Regions from separate parts of the Homo sapiens genome. Here regions 2 and 3 are each linked to region 1. Evidence: promoter capture Hi-C in 16 types of primary human blood cells and fetal thymus (Javierre and others, 2016). All regions are on one chromosome and are shown on one strand. The core of a region is centred on a gene start or on the middle of the fragment in contact, and the rest is flanking DNA. Distances in the headings are between cores, read along the strand shown. Region 1 holds the start of CXCL3 (C-X-C motif chemokine ligand 3). Region 2 holds the start of INKILN (inflammatory MKL1 (MRTFA) interacting lncRNA). Region 3 has its middle 22 kb from the start of CXCL8.

Evidence for each region. Contacts are between HindIII fragments. The CHiCAGO score rates a contact against its expected background, and 5 or more counts as called.
Region 2: a fragment that was not itself captured here is called in contact with the fragment with the promoter of CXCL3 in region 1 in 7 of 17 cell types (M0 macrophages, monocytes, M2 macrophages and 4 more); the score reaches 11.8 in M0 macrophages.
Region 3: a fragment that was not itself captured here is called in contact with the fragment with the promoter of CXCL3 in region 1 in 1 of 17 cell types (M1 macrophages); the score reaches 5.9 in M1 macrophages.

The regions. Positions count from the first base shown.
Region 1 is chr4:74,035,953-74,040,588 of GRCh38, forward strand. CXCL3 (C-X-C motif chemokine ligand 3) reads right to left here and starts at 2,737. Exons shown (of 4, transcript NM_002090.3): 1 at 2,560-2,737; 2 at 2,338-2,461; 3 at 2,141-2,224; 4 at 637-1,325. The coding sequence starts at 2,659. The coding sequence ends at 1,310. It overlaps LOC105377275 (a long non-coding RNA gene), which reads left to right and starts at 2,993. Exons shown (of 2, transcript XR_938875.3): 1 at 2,993-4,636. The HindIII fragment of the contact is 4,426 bases long and covers 2,197-4,636 here.
Region 2 is chr4:73,718,429-73,723,064 of GRCh38, forward strand. It overlaps INKILN (inflammatory MKL1 (MRTFA) interacting lncRNA), which reads right to left and starts at 2,642. Exons shown (of 3, transcript NR_185098.1): 1 at 2,556-2,642. The HindIII fragment of the contact is 1,751 bases long and covers 1,449-3,199 here.
Region 3 is chr4:73,760,633-73,765,268 of GRCh38, forward strand. No RefSeq gene overlaps it. Among named protein-coding and RNA genes, the nearest start is that of CXCL8, 22 kb to the left of the region's middle. The HindIII fragment of the contact is 171 bases long and covers 2,140-2,310 here.

The DNA of each region.
Region 1 (4,636 bases), core at 1,487-3,986:
AAGTCCAAAATTTTGCATTTTCCTTTTAGTTGTTGCCCTACAAATTACAACATTTGTTCTTGCTACAATTTTTTTCTTAATACTTTCTCTAACAATTGAAGAGATATGTTATAGTCTAAACCCACTTATCTCCCAACCTGTCTTTTGTGCTATTTTTGTCATATATTTTACATTACAGTATCTCAATAGGTCATTTTTTTTAATATCACAATTCTTTTTAGTTCTAAGGCAGAATCAACTTTTCTACCTTTTGCTCCCAACCTTGTTAAACGGGAAAGAATTGCATAAGTATTTGAGAAACCGTTTACCAAAAGCATCTAGCAGATCTAGCAGACGCCCATGTTAAAATATCAATAACATTCAAAAATTTGTAAAGAACTAGTTTTGAATAACAAATTGGTCAATGTGAAAAACAGCTAAATGTTATACAAAATTAGAATTATCAAAGTGGTTGGGGGGTAGTATGTACTTTCTAAAAGCATCGGATAGTCCGTTTTGAATAAGAGAAATATAAGGGAAGTGACAGCTAGAAGCAGGCACAGATTTAGATAGAACCTGCAGCCTAACTGTATAACACCTTGGGTGCCTGGGAAGAACTAAAAGTCAAGAAGAATTTTTTGAAAAACCACATAAGCCTTTTTTTTCATAAAACTTTTATTATCATGTCATTTGTACAAATGTAACAGTAATGATAAATTCTCTTTTCCAAGGGAAAGAGAAACGCTGCAGAATGGACATTAAACAAGGCATTATGCCCTACAAGCAAGACATAAAATGTCTAAGGGAAACTTCAGCATAAAAATGTTGAACACATAATGTGAGATAATTTGAATAAATAACAACTGACATTCTTTTTTTAAAAAAAAAGTATAAAAAATAGATGTGTACATACATTCCCTTACCCTAACAGTGATCCACTAATTGCTTGCATTTCAATCCCCCCACCCTCCAGTTCCCCACCCTGTCATTTATCAAGGTGGCTGACACATTATGGTCTCCCACTAAATATTAGTTTAATGACACATTTAAAACCCATCATATTCCAATTAAATAATCAGGACTGAGCTATGTTTGATGAAACACACTCACATCTTTAAATAACAGCATGTAAAATATTAAAATACAAGCTTTCAAAAATAAATACATAAATAAGTAGAACCCTCGTAAGAAATAGTCAAACACATTAAGTCCTTTCCAGCTGTCCCTAGAAAGCTGCTGTTCTCTTTTTCATTTTCAGCTCTGGTAAGGGCAGGGACCACCCTGCAGGAAGTGTCAATGATACGCTGATAAGCTTCTTACTTCTCTCCTGTCAGTTGGTGCTCCCCCTGTGATGAGAAAAGGGTTACTGTTGCAGGTGCTAAGGAAGGCTGCTCTTCTGTCACTCTGAAGTTGCTTGGAGGGATGTCCCCATGCAGACTCTCTCCCAGCCCTCCACTCAGGGAAGGTCTGTCTGTACCCACTGCCTTCTATAGCAGAAAACTTGCACTCCTGAATGCTTTTTTTTTTTTTTTCAAGAAAGAAGTGGCTGTGGACTCAACTAGATTCTTGGTTTGAAAAAGCCAAAACATATTGGTCACTGATTGTCACATTGGGTTAGAAATGTCCATTCATGATCTCCCTTAAGCTGCACACAACCCTATGAAATAACTACCATTATCTACCCTATTTTGCTAAAGCTCAAAGAGATTAAATAACGTTGACAGGGATCCTAGCCTTGAACTCACTGAAGGTGTTACTGCAAAGTTTCTGCTCTTCACCAAGAAGGCTTACAGGCCCAAAGTGCCCAAACCAGACATTGCATTTTTCAGGTCTGAAGCCCATTAGGGACTGAGGTAAACGTCCCAAAACAGGCAGGGGGCATTTTGGCATTGTTAGTCAAATTTACTTAGTATTCTAGAAACCCACATTTACCCTCCCAGGGGTTAGGCCTGGAAATGGAAGACACTGAAATACTGAAATATCCTCTGGCACCAGAGCAGATTAATAACCTTAATGGCAACTTTAATTGTGAAAATAATAATCACAATTTCTAGTCCTTCAGCTAACTCTTGGGGTTCCCTGATTTTATTTTTAGGGGGCAGATGCCAGTATTTCTGACCAACGGCTCCAGTCGCCTGTGTATATGGAAATTACAACTCACTTGTTCAGTATCTTTTCGATGATTTTCTGAACCATGGGGGATGCGGGGTTGAGACAAGCTTTCTTCCCATTCTTGAGTGTGGCTCTGCAGAGAGAAGGGAATTCCGTGAGACAGGAGGTCGGGCTGGGGACAGGGTTGGGGCAGCGGGAGAGTCGGGGACCCCAGCGGTGGCAGCGGAAGCGCGGGGCGGGACTTACATGACTTCGGTTTGGGCGCAGTGGGGTCCGGGGGACCTTACATTCACACTTTGGATGTTCTTGAGGTGAATTCCCTGCAGTGTCTGCAAGCACTGGCAGCGCAGTTCAGTGACCACGGACGCTCCTAGGGAAGAATAGACTCGCTGATTGAGCGGGGCTGTCGGCGCGGGGCGCCCACCCCAGCCGCGTCCGGCCCGGGGACCCCAGGGCGCCGGGACCCACCTGCTGCGCGCCGGCTGGCGGCCACCAGGAGCAGGAGCAGCAGCGCCACCCGCAGGAGCCGGGGATTGCTGGGGGCGGCGGAGAGCGTGGCGTGGGCCATGGGGCTCAGCAGACGCGTCGGGAAGCTGTGCGAGAAGCGGGAGAGCTGGCGGGGAGGTGCCTGCGACCCGGGCTGTGTGGCTCCCCAAGATCGGCGAACCCTTTTTATGCATGGTTGAGACTGGAAAGCCCGGAGCGGCCGGGCCAGGGAAATTCCCGGAGCTCCAGATCGATCCGGAGTCCCGAAGGAAGGCGACGGCCCCGCCCCCGGGGTGGAGTCGGATACGGGTAGGGGGAGCCCACTGGTGACGCCTACGCCTCGCCCTCCAGAGTAACCCCCGTGCACTCTGGGACTTTGGGATATTCATTTTCTGCCCCAAATTCCTGGAGAGGCAGTGAGTCCACCTCGCTGAAGATACAGCCTGTGAGGGGGGACCTTAGGTCCCCGATGACCCCCCGCGTACGGGGTAGGGTTGGAGGAAAGAGCTGGGGGGACCCGTGAGAACCAGGACAGGAAAGGCACGACTTCTTTAGAGGAAGAGAGCTTTGTCTCCTTAGTTATCAGATTTGCTGGGGACCCGGAGACAGGCGAGTTTTCCCTCAGCTATCCTCTCTCTATATAGTCTATCCTCTATGTTAACCTCCCGGTCTCTGCCTCTCTCATTTTCGGTTTAGCGTTATTTCATGTACATCTAACATCATGCTCTCTGTGAAAGTACAGCCATCGTCTCGGATTCCAGAGAAGAATGTTCTACTTGTTCCTTGTTTTGCATATTCTCTAATCACACTTAGAATACCTTGTTTACGTTTTCCATTTGGTGGCAACAGATTATCAGTGTCAAAATTTGAATTCAGTGTTAGTGTCCGTGGAAGCCAGGGCTGTATAACATGACCTCTTCTTTTGTATCCTGCATAACGTCCTTCCTCCCTCTGAAATGTTGGAACTTCCTAAATCCCCTGGAGACCTTCTCCCAGTGGGAGGGATTCAGATTTGATCTAGAAATATGACACTGGCTGTCACTCTGAAGCTGTGGAGGGGCTGGGTCCAGCAGGATCATGGGCTCAATGTTTCTGGTTCTGTCTTTGCGAATGACACTAGAGAGTAGGTACCTGGTGTGCAAACACCATTCCCACTGAAGGAGCAAACAGCTGCCTGCTGATGACATTTAAACACCAGATCACACATAAAATCACATTTCATTTACTATAGAATTTTCTGGTATTCAGCACTGGGGGATCTTTCTCTGGAAACATTAACAGGGCACTTTTTTTTCTCGTCTGGATTTTCAGTCTTTTAACCTGACACCTTTGTCCCTTTTTCTAGTTTTAGATAATGTATTTTGATTTGTCATTAGGTTTTAGAGGGTTTAAGTGTGATTCTACAAGTTGGTCTCAGACCTCTTTGAGACGTGGAGTAGGATGGAGGAGAGGAGAAAGGAATGGCATCTGCCTGAAGCACAGGGCTCTACACAACCCAGCTCAAGGGATAAGAGTCCTTGCCCCTAACCAAACACAGAGCGTGCAACTGTGCTGCCTGTATTTAGTTGCAGAGTATCACTTGCAAGTTGTTAAGCCTCTCTGTGCCTAGCCCAAGGTGGTTATGAGAAATGAGTTAACATTTGTAAGAGACAACATGGATTAAGTGCCTTATTAATGGTTGTTAAATAAATAAAATGGACTATTTCCATTTTTAAAAGGCTATTTCTTTCCCGACATTGCCTGAACAAAAACTCAGCCTGCTATGAATTCTGTAAAGGAAAAAAGAAGAATCTAATGGAAAGTTTTACTCCCCAGTGTTTTTCACATTTAAAATTTTCTGTATCCCTTACTGCCACCCAACTCTCCCTGTCTCTAACTGATATAAAGCAGTGTGAGTCCTTAAGAAATCAAAGCACATCCTAGAAAGAAGAATGTTCATATAAACACCACAATCCCAGTTTCCAAAATGGTCTTGTAGTTACTGGTGCTCACGGGTATCTGTGATGTCATTACAATAATCTTGGACAAGGGATAGAAAGGTGTGCTAGAATGTCCTGTT
Region 2 (4,636 bases), core at 1,074-3,573, 320 kb before region 1:
TTATATATGAGAAACTTGGGGAGAAGACAGATTAAATAACTTGGTCAAAGTCACATGGTGGGCAGCAGGTTTAGGATTTTTTTTCTAATGCACTTAACTCCAAACTCTGTGTTATTTTTATTGCACATTGCTGCATGTTGCCTAAATACCTGAAAGCATTGTTTCCATTTTTCCAGTTATTGGTCTCTTTTAAGAATAATAACTTCAGTTCTGTCATTTTGTTATGATCTAGTGGTAACCCAAGGAGGAAGGAAAACTATTGTCTCAGAGAAAATGTGATGTTGAAAGTCTAAAGAGTAGATTACCTTGTAAGTATTTTGGTTTCTAAAGAGAAAAATGTGAAGTCATTGAGCCATGAAAAAAGCTGACTCAAATTTAAAAGATTGTTTTGAGTATTAGTGTTCTAGCAAAATGACAGTGGTTTGTGGCAATTTCCTCCTTTAACACAGTCACTGTGGAAGGACTAGAATGGTTAGAATTACACCCTGGCCTAATCACCAGAAGATGGAAGAGAAGTAAATTATATGTATGAACTATTCTGAGCACAGATATTTACAAAGAACTACTAAAGGGATTACAAAAGGAAGATTCTCATTTATTGGTGAATCAGAACTGTGGAATTGAATGGTGCAATTATTTTATATAATGTGAGAATGGGCTAATGTGAGAAATCATCCTTAATACTCATATCTTTCACAGATTGGGGAAGAAAATCTTCCTGACCCTGGATGCAGGATTTCACAATATTTCAATGTTATTATGAGTACATAGGTAAAAGGTAGAAAGAAGATGTGATAATGATATGTCTGGCAAACTTGTGGCTACTCTGCCAAAGATAATCACAAGATACCAATAGTGGGATCAAGTGAACCTGAGTTGAGGAAGTTAAGTAAGAATGTTATTACTAAACAGAAGTACCTCAAGTCTCCCATGAAATATTCTGGCATTACCTCCCTTTTCAAAAAATGTTCTTCAAAATTGGTTATTATTTGGAGCGTGTTGATCATTTTCCCCTTTAAAGATGATGCTGAAACATTATGGTGCCTGCTTATGTTAATCTATTCTGAAAACATGTTTTCAGAGCAACAATGAATTGCTCATAAAAATTTTCCCTAGAGCCACGTTAGTTATATTCTTAGCAGTTGCTCAAAATTCAAGATGCTGGCAATAATTGTTTGCTTGTTAAAGTATATCTAATCTGGGGATTCATTCAGCTAATCTCTACTAGATAGATTGTAATCTTTCTCTTTTTTAAATTCATTTTTTTTTGTTTATTTTTTCGTAAGGCTGGTCAAGGTATGCTGAGTTAAAAAGTGAAGTGTCAAAATGACATACCATTAAGCTGACCTAATAGGGTAGCTCAAATAAATATCATATTTGGACTGAACATAGAGATTATTGAAAACTTTCTTGGTAATACATGGTTATTCTTTAGAATTGCATATCGAAGCTTAGTTTTGTAACAGCTCATATATCTCAAAGATTTTATGATTTTAAATACAAGCACATATTCCTATCAGAAATTTGAATTTAAATTCTGAAATGTAAAAAAATTCACGTTTTTTGAGAGAGATGACACAAAGGCAAAGCATATCATGGCCTTATCATAGCTATACTTTGAGACATCTCAACTTTTTGTGGGTGTTTGACTGAGGAACTTTAAAGGACCTATTTACTTTTTCTGACATATCCCTCAAATGAGACCAACACTGTTGAAGTTCCATTTGTAAATTTATCACTAAGACAGCTGCAGAAAGGGATAAAGAGGATGAGTGTAACTCCAGCCACTAGTTTAGTAGATGAAGAATCTGATGTCCAAAGAGATTAAGCGGCTTTCTCAAGGTCACAGAGCAAGCAAGCAATGGAGCCAGTGCTCAGAACCCAATTTTCTGAAGTCCTGCTCAGTTTAGACCACTTGGGAAGTGCTTTAAAGCAAGGATAAATTATGTAAAATAAATTAATATGCTTAATTATCAGCCTTTAATATTGCAGGACAGAGTCTATTAACTGAGATTTATCTGGTCTGCTAAGCACGCAACAAGATGATTTTAATAATCAAGTTTTATAAATGGTTTACCATGAAAACTGTAGTCTACATCTTTCAGTCAAAGGGAAATAGAAGATCAAATGATTAGGTTAGTCCATAGATAAAATTCCAAATTTTATATGAGTTTCCTTGATAAGAGCCCTCTAAAGGGGTCTTAACACATAGGTTAGCTCTTGTGCCACTAAAAATGTTGTCCTTTTTGACATTTAGAATCTTTGTTCACTTTGTAAGTAGAAATCTCTTGCCCATAAAAACATGAACAAATATTTACAACTCTTCAAATTGTAGTTCTATTTTAGGTTTGAAATACACAACATTTGTACAAGTTAAAAATGGAGATTAGAATCTTATAATGTAGGATTTGGACGAGATGACTTCTAAACACACCTATAGTTCTCAAATCCTAGGTATGACAATAAGTGATTGTATTAGTTCATTTTCATGCTGCTGATAAAGACATACTCAAGACTGGGCAATTTACAAAAGAAAGAGTTTTAATTGGACTTACAGTTCCATGTGACCAGGGAAGCCTCACAAACAGGGTGGAAGGCAAGGAGGAGCAAGTCATATCTTACAGGGTGGCAGGCAAAGAGAGAGCTTGTGCAGGCAAACTCCCATCTTTTAAAACCATCAGATCTTGTGAGATTCATTCACTATCACGAGAACAGCACAGGAAATACCCGCTCCCATAATTCAATCACCTCCCACCAGGTTCCCCCCATGACACGTGGGAATTATGGGAGTTACAATTCAAGATGAGGTTTGGGTGGGGACACAGCCAAAACATATCAATAATTGAGTAATTGCTATATCTTATGTACAATGGGATTAGTGTGATAAATTTACTCATTCGGAAAAAAGAGAAAGGATCAGCAAAAGGGAGAAAAAACTTTCAATATTAACAATTATTTATTAGTGGTCTTAGTATTACAGAATCCAAATACCATAGAACTTTAAAATAGTCTGAAAACAAAGAGATTTAGATAATTTTTTCTCAAATAATTATTATTAAGAAGATTGCTGAATCTTGGATAATCAGTATCTTTATAATTTCTTCATTATGCTAGTGTTGTGTATTGTGCAATTTCCTTATTACAATGCTTCATGGGCTAATGACGCAATAGCAGATGTGTATCATGGATAAATGAGAAAAGCTTGTAGATTCTCAGTTCTGGAAAAGCCTTGGAGCTCATGGAGTGTGGTTAAGAAGGCAGGCTCTGGAATTTGATATTAAAGTTTGAATCCTGCTCTGTCATATACTCCTATGGGACCTTGAACAAGCTGCATATCCTCTCTGCCTCAATGTACTCATTAGCTAATTGGGATAATAATAGTACTGATCTCATAGGGTTATTGAGAGGATTAAATGACTTAATACATGGCAAGCGCTGAGGATAGTTCCTGGCACATAGAAAATACAGTGTTAAATATTCTCTGCTATACCTGGCCAGGATTCTCATTTAAAAGATGAAAAAGTGAAAGTCATCAGTAGCAAATCACTTTTTATATTCCAGAGAATAGAGCTTTGTTTGTCATAGATATAAATCTGTATGATAAATCTCACTGTATTCTACAGTGAATAATGACAGCTCATCCTGAACTTTGAAAATAACTTTTTTTTCAATAAAAGAATGAGTTCAGTTTGACTCATGTGGTCCAGTACAGGGTCACTCCAGGGCTGGCCTTATAAGTCATTGGAACATCTAACTGTCTATGTCGTGTCTTTAGGAGATCTGGGAATGCCCCTTGTCAAAAATAATTTCCACCCACTGACTGATGTCTGCAGTTTTCTTTAGTTTAAGGAGTTGTCCCCTGTTGAAACACACATTTTTCTATTAGAAATAACAATTTGAGTTTTTAAAAATCATTTCTATAATCTTGTAAAAGACAATTCAAGAGATAGATTTTGATAAAGGGGAAAGGAGAAGAGAAAATGAGGATTCCGGGTCCTACAAGTGAACCATCCAATTGAAGTGGTCTGGGAACTTTGATAGCAGATTTCCCCACATTTTTTAATTTGTATAAATTTACAGGGTATAAATGTAGTTTTGTTATATTCATAGATTATGTAGTGGCAAAGTCAGTGCTTTTAGGATACCCATCACCCAGATAACATACATTATACCCATTCTCCACAATTTTCCTTGTAATCAGCTTTCCACCTCAATATTCCTAAAACAACATCTATCCTGGAATGAATGAGTCTGACTCTTTTCAGTGCACTAAGCCATATGCTGGGCACGATAAAGGAGGCAGAAGACTGAAATGACACAGTTTCTGTCCTTGCAGAGTGTACAATCTAGTAGCAGACAAAATACATGCACATGTAACTACAATAAATTGCTAAGCACAGCAGAGGCATGGAAATGAGCAGAAGTCAGTGGGAGATGACAGACCTGCACTTCTCCCCCTTGCAAGCAAAGTGCCTCCAATGGTATAGGAGAGAGCATGCAGAAGAAGCCTGACGGCCCATATAAGAGTGAAATTCCTTTCAAAGCATCTATTTCTTTTCTTGTTTATTTTAATGGAGCATCAAATCAGTATTTTAATTTGCTTTACAACCATGGAAATTTATGTTCCAGGGAGATG
Region 3 (4,636 bases), core at 975-3,474, 280 kb before region 1:
CAGCTACTACCTGGGAGGCTGAGACAGGAGAATTGCTTGAACCTAGGAGGCAGACGATGTAGTGAGCTGAGATCATGCCACTGCACTCCAGCCTGAGCAACAAAGAGCAAAACTCCTTCTAAAAAAAAAAAGAAAAAAAAAAAAAAAGAAGAAACATGTCGAAATGTAATCCCCAATGTGGCAATATTGAGAAGTGGGACTTTTAAGAAGTGATTGGGTAACATGGCTGGGCACGGTAGCTCACATCTGTAATCCCAGCCCTTTGGGCAGCCGAGGCAAGAGGATCACCTGAGGTCAGGAGTTGAAGACCAGCCTGGCCAACATGGTGAAACTCTGTCTCTACTAATAATAAAAAATTAGCTGAGCATGGTGGCATGTGCCTGTAGTACCAGCTACTTGGGAATCTGAGGCAGGAGAATCGCTGGAACCTGGGAGGCGGAGGTTGTAGTGAGCTCAACTCAAGCTACTGCACTCCAGCCTGGGCGACAAAGTGAGACTCCGTCTCAAAAAAATAAAAATAAATAAAAGAAGTGATTGGGTAACGAGAGTTCTGCCCTCATGAATGGATTAATCCACTCATGAATTAATTGACTGACTAATGTATTGATGGATTAATTGATTATTATAGGACCAGGACTGGTGGCTTTAGAAGGTCAGCAAGAGGGACTAGAGCTAGCACGCTCAGCCCTCTTGCCACGTAATGTCCGGTGCTGCTTCAGAACTCTGCAGGGAGTCCACACCAGCAAGAAAGCCCTTATCAGATGCAGCCCCTCAACCTTGGACTTCTCAGCCTTCATAACGATAAGTATTCATTTATTTTCTTTATAAATTACCCAGTTTTTATAAATCAACAGAAAATAAATTAAGACACCATCTAAATACCAACTCAACTGTGTGCAGATGAACAACTAGCACACTCATTGGAATAGCTGAAATAAAAACCAGACAGTTCCAACTATTGGTGAAGATGTGAAGCAACTGGAACTCTCAGACTTTGCTGATAGGAGTGTAAATAATACAGTTTGGAAAACCGGCTGCATCTACCAAAGCAGACATACACATTACCTTTGACCCAGTAAGTCCCTTATGTAAACTCGACAGAAAATGTGCACATATATTCCTAAAAAGACACGTAGTAGAATGTTAATAGCAGTACCCTCTGTGGTGGTCCTAGATTAGAAAATTACCCAAAAGTCTGCCAACAATAAAAAATATAAATCAAATATGATATATCATATAATGGAATACTATATAGCATTGCAGAAACATTGAGAATAGCTATGTATAATTATACACAAAAATATTAATGAATCTTACAAGCATATTGTTGAGTTTAAAGAGCCAGGCACAAAAACCCACATGCTGCATGATTCAATTTCTTAACAAACAAAAGCAGGCAAAAACAATGTATGCCTTTGAAAGTCAGAACCATGGTAACCCTAGAGACACAGGATGTGATTAGAAAGGAACATGGAGTAGGATTTAAGGGTACTGGTAATGTTCTGTTTCTTGATATGGGAGCTAGTTCAGTTTGTAAAAACTCTTATTGAGATTGAAATACGTGCACTTTTAAGTTATGTGTTACATTCAATAAAAATCTTTTAAAAATAATGAGTAAACATTCTCTGAGGTATAGCATAGAATGTGCAGAAACAGGAAAGACAGTTCATCATGGAACATGGACCTGGGGATAGGATTGAGGGTGAATGTGTGTGGAAAAGCATTGGGATTATAAAATACAGGGCAGTGTCACAATTTAGAAACACTAAGCTAAGGTGCAGCTGAAAACGTATGTGTGGGAGTTGGTCCAGATTCTCTGAGAAGCAGACATCAAGATAGGATTAGGCATGCAAGAAGTTTATTAAAGTAAGTGTATGTGAGAGGAAATGGGGAGGCAGCTGGGAGAGGCCGACAAAGACATCAGACCACGATGCGGGATTAACCTTGAGTGAAGGGGGAAGTGAATGTAGGTTGGGTGGAACATCTTGGACTGCAGTGCAGTTCAAGGGGAAGTTCAGTAAGGTCACTGGGGAATCATAGAGTCCAAGTCACCTGTTAGAGGAAACCTGCGTCTCCCCGGAAGCGGTCTATGTTAGTATTCTGCCATGCTTCTTTATCAGTTAGGAGCAATGCTTGGGAAGCTTAGTCTTGGGACAAAAGTAATGATGAATTTTAAAGCAAAATGTGTAGAGCCACCAGTCAATTATGCTCCTTGTAGTCAGGGATCCAGAGGTACATTTTCATGACTGCCACAAGAAGAAGACAAAACCTGTGACAATGGCCTGCTGGCAAAAGTGTCTCTAAAATAAAAGCTTTGACTTTTAGTATTTGACAATTTCCTTGGTGTAAATATTTTCACTACGCTGTTTTTCAAGCTAAAAATGGTTTTGCAAATGGTTGGTAAAACTTCTGAATGTCTGATAATCCGCTCTCATGACATAGTATCAGCCAGCTCCAGCATACCATTCCTTGTAAAGTTTGACTCTACAGGCAAAACAAAAGCCAATGTTTATCAGAGCAAAAACCTTAGAAAATGTTCACAATAGAAAGTCTTATGTTTTACTTTTTCCTAAAGTAAAATGATTGTCTAAAAGCTACTGATGGGGACAGGAGGCAGAGAAATTCTGGGCAGAAAACGGCGGATCCCTGGTGAAGCTTCAACCTCAAGCCTAAAACCCTGAGACCACAGCCCAAAGTGAGAACTTATAACCCTGTTTTCCCATTCAAATGTTGCCTTTTCCTAAGCCACCCATGGCCCTGCCCCACCCCATCATGTACCTATAAAGACCCTGGACTCAGCAAGCAAAGCAGAGAAGCAGCTGGATATTGAGGACTATAGCTAAATGTCAGAGAGAAGTGGCTGGACTTCAAAGGGACAGCTTGATGGCATAACTTTGGAGAAGAATCCTGCCGGAGACAGCTGGACTTCAGAGGAAGATTATCTTCCTTCCCTGTTCCCTTTTCAGCTCCTCTTCCCACTGAAGGCCACTTTCATCAGCAGTAAAATCACACACATTTAACATCCTTCAATTCGTTTGTGCAACCTCATTTTTCCTGGATGCTGAACAAGAGCTTGGGAGCCATAAGTGTGGATACAAAAGGCTGTCTAAGGCAGAGGACCCACTGAGCTGTTAAAACTTAAGCTGTCTGTGGACAGCAGAGCTAAAAGAGCACTGTAACATGCTTTCTGAAGCTTCAAGGGTCACAGGCATCCCCCTGTAGATGCTGCTGCTGTGGGGCCTGCACAGAGTTTGCCCCTGCCAGTACCCAAAAGCGCTCACCCCAAATCCTGCCCGCTCACCTGTGTGCTCCCTCCTGCAGTAAGTCTGAGTAAGTGGAGTTCACTCATGCCAGCACTGAAGTGGACAGCTGTTTCCAGCACTCCTGCAATCCAGTTCTCGCCTCATTCACTCACGCACACCCTTCTGCAAGGAGTTAAGAGCTGCTGGCTGAGTAAATGAGGCACCCCTGTTGCGAGTCCTGTGAAGGGGTCAGGGAAATATCCTGCTTCATGTGGGGGCCTATACAGGATATGTAAGAAGGGTGAGTAAATGCGGATCAGCTGGATCTTTCTCTTCACTTCTTTTCCAAGATTTCTTGTCCTCAGACTTTCCTCTGAGCTATGCTATTTGCAGGGGACAGGATGCAACCCTGTTACCTCTCTCTTCCTGGTGCAAGGAATGTTGGCTCTTTTTACCTTCATGGGGGTCTGGACTTCGTGTCAGACCAGAATAAAGTCCTGGGGCAACTGTAGGCTACTGGCCAAGGTCACTACTCAGTGTTGCCAGAAGGCCCTTAGAGGGGCTCCAGTCCCCAACTGCCCATTAGAACATTAACCAAGACCCTAGACTTTTCTATGGTATCTTTCCCTTTCTTCTTTCACAGTTTGACATGACTCCTATATCTTTTTTCGTAATAATAAGAGTTTTACTGCAAACAGCAGACATTTTACTAGATAGAATGAGCTTTTGGCCCAGCCATCAGATATGCGATTCAGAACAATGTGATTTCCATCTGTATTAGTCAGGATTCTCTGAGAGACAGGACTAATATGATACATTGTGTATACGAAAGCAAGTTTATTAAGTAGTACTGACTCACACGATCACAAGGTGAAGTCCCACAGTAGGTCATCTGCAAGCCAGTCCAAGTTCCAAAACCTCAAAAGTAAGGAAACCAATAGTACAGCTTTCAGCCTGTGGCCAAAGGCCTGAGAGCCTCTGGCAAACCACTGGTGTAAGCCCAAGAGTCCAAAAGCTGAAGAGCTGAGAGTCCAATGTCCAAGGGCAGGAAGCAAACAGCATGAGAGAAAGATGGAGGCCAGAAGACTTAGCCAATCTCGTCCTTCCATATTCATCTGCCACCTTTTATCCTAGCCATGCTGGCAGCTGATTAAATGGTGCCCACCCAGACTGAAGGTGGGTCTGCCTCTCCCAGTCCACTGACTGAAATGTTAATCTTCTTTGGCAACACTCTCAGAGACACACACTGGAACAATACTTTACATCCTTCAATCCAATCAAAAGTTGATACTCGATATTAACCATCACAAGTCCACCTCTTGTCAACTTGAACTCATATACATCTCCTGAAATTATACATAATTTTCAAATAAAGACAATAATAAGGTCTTAAT